2 separate regions of the Homo sapiens genome follow, and region 1 is linked to region 2. Evidence: promoter capture Hi-C in human tissues and cell types (Jung and others, 2019). All regions are on one chromosome and are shown on one strand. Each heading gives the region's core, a stretch centred on a gene start or on the middle of the fragment in contact. The rest is flanking DNA. Distances are from core to core; before and after follow the strand shown. Region 1 holds the start of CABIN1 (calcineurin binding protein 1). Region 2 holds the start of SPECC1L-ADORA2A (SPECC1L-ADORA2A readthrough (NMD candidate)).

Region 1 (3,220 bases), core at 257-2,756, 260 kb after region 2:
CAGCCTGGGCGACAGACCAAGGCTCCGTCACACACACACACACAAAAGCTATTGAATAATCATGAAAAAGAAAAATATCTATTCATTTCTGACTCCCAGCCCAGCAGCTGCATTTCCTCAGATAGCAGCACATTCACCAGGCTTATTAGTCTAAGCTAATAAGTTTCCAAACCCCTTAGAATATAGTTTCCATGGCCTCAGAACACGATAAAGAGTAGCACACCTTCAGACCTCAGCACCCTGATCCAGAGTGATAACTGGGGATGTTTCCTGGCCTGGAAGGTGGGAAGCCTATGTCTTAAGCTCAGTGGTGGCAGTGCCCTGGCTGTGTGACTGACTTGACATAGATGTCAGTCTCTCAGTCTGTTTCCCCTCATGTATGAGGCTTTGTACTAGATGAGGGTTCTGCAAGCTAACCAGCCCACCCTTTTTGTACAGCCCACGAGCAAAGAATGGTTTTTACATTTTTTCATATTTGGGAAAAAAAATCATGACACGTGAAAATTATATTAACAATATATAAAATTAAAACTTCGGTCCCTATAATTAAAATTTTATTGCGACGCAGCTAGTCTGTTATGTATTGTCTTTGGCTGTATCCACACTACATCGCTACAGTTAAGTAGACAGAGTATGGACCCCCCAAGCCTAAACTACTATTATGAATACTATTATACTCATTATACTTACAATATAACAATGTAAACACTGATATATTTACAACAAAAGTTTGCCGACCGCTGAACGAGACTGTTCTAAGCATATTCTATTTCTAACCACAATAATCACATAGAAAGAATCTTAGCCACATGGAATCCGACGGTCCCACACTTATAACCTGTAATAACCCAGGTCCTGAAGAGTTAAGTGACTCCCAAAGCCACTTGTGCAGATACCTTGGGAATGCCAGGTGAGTTCCATCTGGCCAGGGCCCGCCTCTTGCGGGGAGGCAGTGAAGCAGAACGGTCAAAATTTTCAGTCTGGAGTCGCGCTCACCCACTGGGTGACTTGGAGCAAATCATTTCACCTACCCGCGGCCTCAGTTTCCACCCCTGTAAATGGCACCAATAACAACACTCACCTCGCAGGGCTGCTGTGAAGGTGAAGCGAAAGGTCGCGAGTAAAGGGTTAGCGCGCTGGGCTTTGCACCCAGCAGACGCCAAATCAATGGTGGCTCCTGCGGTTACTGGGAACCTCCCCGGAGGCCGGAACCCATTCTAGGCACCTCAGGGCGGCGGCGAGAGCCATGAAGAGGCTCGCGAGGCAGCCAGGAAGCCCGGCCTCGGTTTCCCTGACTGGGGCTCTAAAGCTGCCCGCGAAACCCCCAGCTTCCTCACGTAACCCAGCCTCGCGCCTGCAGCCCCTCCGGCCTGTGCCCCGGGCTCTGCTGAGCCTCACCCCCACCCCGGCACCGCCTTCAAACCAGCCTTCCAGGAACTCACCAGGCGTCTCCACAGCAACGGCCAGTCTGTCCCGACCACCGCGCCGTCCGGCTGCGCGCCTGACAACAAGGCGTGCTCCCATTGGCTCCGGTGCCGGTTGTGCCAGCCAATCAGCGGGGGCGCACGCGCCGCTCGCTCTCCGCGGGCTGCTTAGCTGGGGCCCTGCAGACGGCTACCCTTGGGCGGCGCGCGCGCGCGTGCGCGCGTGTGTGCGCGTGTGTGCGCGCGTGCGCGTGTGCGTGTGCGTGTGTGTGTGTGTGTGTGTGTGTGTGTGTGTGTGTGTGTGTGTGTTGCGGGAGTGGAGCTTGTTGTTTCCGGATCCCCGTCGTCAGTCCTAGCGTGCTGGAGGCTTAGAGCACCAGCTCGTAGTCGGACTCTCTTCTCCACAGCTTGCACCCTGAGCAGTCACTAAATGATGGGCTGTGTGTTATTACCTGGGACATGTGCTCTGAAAACAGTGGAAACTTGGGGAACACTTAGAGCGGGGTGTCCAATCTTTTGGTTTCCCTGGGCCACGTTGGAAGAATTGTTTTGGGCCACACATAAAATACACTAACACTAAGGATAGCTGATAAGTTAATAAATAAATAAATAATAAAAATAAAAATCACCAAAAAATCTCAAAATGTTGTAAGAAAGTTTATGAATTTGTGTTGAGCCGCATTCAAAGCCAAGCAGACCAGCGCGTTGGAGAAACTTGACTTAGAGGGAACCAGGGAGGAGGAGCATCCTCATTCATTATATTACCTGTGCCTCTCTTTCCAAAAAGGATGTGAAGCCCAAAAGGAACAGATACAATAGGATATTGAAACAAAAGGAAAAAAAGGAACAAAACCTAGTAAATGAACAAGAAGAGGGGTCATGGGTGGTGTCAGAATTCCAGAGATGAAAAAAGGCGACAGAGTTGAAGGGGTTCTGTCAAGGGTCTTGGGCTGAAAGATGGTACTCTCTTGGGAGCTAGAATAACAATAAAGCATTGTAGGGAAGAACTTTACACTGTGGTTGAATTCATAGCTGCTTGAGTCTTGCACAGATGATTCAAATAGGAGTGAATGTTGGGGGCTTTTTAACCTCAAAGACAGTAACAGCATGGTGAAAAACTCAGTTCAGTACAATAAAGCTATACTGATAAGCTAGAAGTTCTGAAAATTGTTGAGTCACCAACCTTGACTTTGAGTATTGGGGTAAACAGTATTTGGGGGGTAAACAGAAGCATAAACAGATGGTTTCAAAGCTGCATGGATAACCTTCAGCCTCGGATACAGCTTCCACTCAAGCCTTATCATGAAAGATGCGCTGGAGAGAAACAGTTGAAAATAGGTGGGAAGGGTGGTCCAAGCAGCAAGAAAGTTGTGTGGGGAAGGTCCGGAGGTGAGAAACATGCAGATCATGCTGGAGTGTCATGCAGCACAGTGTTACCGTGAGGCAAAGCTCAGGGCCACAGTGGGGAGAGAGCACTCTGGAGAGTTAGGAAGAGGCCAGTCCAAACAAGCAAGCAGAAAACATATTGTTGCAGTCTTGCCCGTGCACCACAATGTACCAGTCTCTCATTGTGGGGTATCACCCAGAATTCTTTGTCTCACGACCAAGAAAATTAGGGAGTGTGGACACAAAGGGTAAGGTTGAAGCAAAAGTTTAATAAGCAAATGAAGAAAGCTCATTGCAGCTGGCGGGGGGCCCAAGCAGGTTGCCCATTATGAGGCTGGGTCAGGGGGTTTTATGGACTGGGAAAGGAAGGAATGTACTGACTGGTCTTGGAGAAAGCACTACTCAGCTTG
Region 2 (3,031 bases), core at 337-2,836:
GGGAGCTCGGCCTTGTTATATCTGGTTTTTGTTTTTTTGAGACGGAGCCTCGCTCTGTAGCCCAGGCTGGGGTACAGTGGCGCGAACTCGGCTCACTGCAACCTCCGCCTCCCGGGTTCAAGCGATTCTCCTGCCTCACCCTCCTGAGTAGCTGGGATTACAGGCGCGCGCTTTTTGTATTTTTAGTAGAGACAGGATTTCACCATGTTGGTCAGGCTGGTCTTGAACTCCTGACTTCAGGTGATCCGCCCGCCCCGGCCTCCCAAAGTGCTGGGATTACAGGCATGAGGCACCGCGCCTGGCCTGGTTTTTAATTACGAAGAAAAAATTACTATAGTCCCTTTGGTATCACCTACATTGGCAAAATTGCAGTCCCCCTCCACTCCCTGAAGCCACCAGAAATGACTGCTGTTGTCTACAAAGCCTACAGCTCTGATTTCATCTCAAGATGTGTCCTACTGGGTGACAGCAAATGCCATTTTTTAAAGGCTTGTATCTGTTATAAGCTTGGGAAATATTATCATGGCTTAAGAGGCTCTTTTGACAAAAGAAAACACTGTTCCCTGAAATCACCTGGGCTGTTCACGGGAATCTTTTCCTCGCCCTTCTGGTACTTGGACAAATGATCAAGGATATCAACAAATCAAGGTTCCCCGCATTTGAATGATCACAGAATTTTTGCGTGTTCTGTAAATGGGCTAAAACTACTGGAAACTGATTTCTTTTCGTCATCTCCAGGGCAGCTTGCCCAACGTGCCGCGACTATGATGTCTTAGACTTAACTACTTAAGGTAATACAATTACCAAATTCCTGGAAACGCAAAATTTCCTCAGACAGGTACCGGATTATTCACATCCAACCTGATGCAATTAACCACGTCTCAAGAAAAAAGGACGTTCCGTCCGCCTCGGGCGCCGGCCACAGCAGAAGCAGCACCGGCAGCAGGCCCGGGGTCCGCCGCCTGTGGCCCCTGCTCCTCCGCTCTGCGCCCTCGGGGCCACTGAACAACGCTGTCCCCGCCCCAGGCAAGGGACCCGGGCGATGGGGCGGCAGCCCCAGCCTCTCCCGGAGCGGCGGAAAGGCAAGCACGAGGGTCGCACCCGGCCTGTCTGCACACAGTCAAGCCGCAAGCGGGGTCCCAGAACCAGCTGAACCCCAACACCAACGGACGAAGGCCAGTGGGTCTCGGCGGCGAAGCCTGCGGGTTGTTCCAGAAGCCCCGAAGCCCAGAACGAGGACGGCGCGGGAAGGGAAAGGCGCAGGCGCGGGACACACTGGAGGGGCCCAGGAGCAGAGACGGCGCAGGCGCTGGGCCTGCCGGGGTCTGCGGGGACGCCCGGGCGCGGCAGCGCGGGCGGCGCTGAGGCGATAAACCAACCCGCCAGCGAACACTGCGGGAACCCGGCTGCTGCTCTTACCGCGCTGCACCGCATCGCTCCCTCGCAATCTCCTGGTTTGGGCTGGGCGGTGAGCTCACCCGGTGGCTCAGCCGAGACCCGTTGAGTCCGGCCTCAGGAAAGCAGCCTACCCCGCAGCGCCGCTTGCCGGGCCGCCCGGCCTCCCTCGCGGGCCCCGCCCTTGGCCAGCCCCTTCGCGCCCAGCAGGGCTGCGGCCGTCTGCGCAGGCGTCGTGGAGGCCCCGCCTACATTCCTTCACTGCGCAGGCGCCGCCGTCCCCCACCACCACCCCCTCCCCTTCCCCCATCTCCGGCTCGCGTCCGTCTCGGCACTGGGTCGCGCAGCCGCTCTGCCACTTGGCCGGTCAAGAAAGTAGCCGGCCAGCCGGTGCGCATGCCTCAGGTCTTGGGCTGGAGCCGGGCAAGGCGGGTCCCTTCAGAGGCCCCACTGGGCCCAGCGGAATGATGCTCAGAGTCCGCTAGTCCCAAAAGTTCTCCTCAGCGTGTTTACCGTGTGCCAAGGACTGTGCTATGCATGAGCCAGACAGCAGTGAGGAAAACACAAAGCCCTGTCCTCCTGGCACTCCCGGTACATAAGGGAACAGACAAAAAGAATAAGCGAGCAACATATATGTATATATATATGTATATACATATATATATACGTATATATATATACGTATATATATATGTATATATATACATATATATATACGTATATATATATGTATATATATGTGTATATATATACATATATATATGTATATATATATATATATATATATAAAATATTAAAGAAATTCTGGGGGAGTTCGAGTTCCATCGGCCCCCATCCGGGCCACCCTGCCACCTTAGCGGCTGCTCCTCCCCAGAATGCTGATGCCTAAGAAAAACCGGATTGCCATTTATGAACTCCTTTTTAAAGAGGAAGTCACGGTGGTCAAGAAGGATGTCCACATGCCTAAGCACCTGGAGTTGGCAGACAAGAATGTGCCCGGCCGGGCGCGGTGGCTTAGGCCTGTAATCCCAGCACTTTGGGAGGCCGAGGCGGGCGGATCACGAGGTCAGGAGTTCAAGACCAGCCTGGCCAAGATGGTGAAACCCGTGTCTACTAAAAATACAAAAATATTAGCCAGGCGCGGTGGCAGACACCTGTAATCCCAGCTAGTCGGGAGGCCAAGGCAGGAGAATTGCTTGAACCCAGGGGGCGGAGGTTGCAGTGAGCCGAGATCGCGCCCCTGCACTCCAGCCTGGGCGACAGAGTGAGACTCCTCTCAAAAAAAAAAGAATGTGTGTGCCCAACCTTCCTGTCATGTAGTCCCGAGGCTACTACGTGAAGGAACAGTTTGCCTGGAGACATGTCTACTGGTACCTTACCAATGAGGATATCCAGTATCTCCGTGATTACCTTCATCTGCCCCTGGAGATTGTGCCTGCCACCCTACGCCGCAGCCGTCCAGGGACTGGCAGGCCTCGGTCTAAAGGTCTGGAGGGTGAGCGACCTGCAAGACTCACAAGAGGAGAAGCCGACAGAGATACCTACAGAAGGAGTGCTGTGCCCCCTGGTGCCGACAAGAAAGCCGAGGCTGGGGCTGGGTCAGCAACCGAATTCCAGTTTAGAGGCAAATTTGGTC

The links. Contacts are between HindIII fragments. The study calls those that stand out against the background at their distance.
Region 1: a contact is called between the fragment with the promoter of CABIN1 here and the fragment with the promoter of SPECC1L-ADORA2A in region 2, in 2 of the 25 tissues and cell types used here (dorsolateral prefrontal cortex and heart right ventricle).

What each region holds. Positions count from the first base shown.
Region 1 is chr22:24,009,590-24,012,809 of GRCh38, reverse strand. CABIN1 (calcineurin binding protein 1) reads right to left here and starts at 1,506. Exons shown (of 37, transcript NM_012295.4): 1 at 1,443-1,506. The HindIII fragment of the contact is 7,958 bases long and covers 1-3,220 here.
Region 2 is chr22:24,269,372-24,272,402 of GRCh38, reverse strand. It overlaps SPECC1L-ADORA2A (SPECC1L-ADORA2A readthrough (NMD candidate)), which reads right to left and starts at 1,586. Exons shown (of 20, transcript NR_103546.1): 1 at 1,420-1,586. It overlaps SPECC1L (sperm antigen with calponin homology and coiled-coil domains 1 like), which reads right to left and starts at 1,572. Exons shown (of 17, transcript NM_015330.6): 1 at 1,420-1,572. It also overlaps the pseudogene RPS10P29. RefSeq lists an enhancer at 1,114-1,193 and a silencer at 1,254-1,783. The HindIII fragment of the contact is 12,728 bases long and covers 1-3,031 here.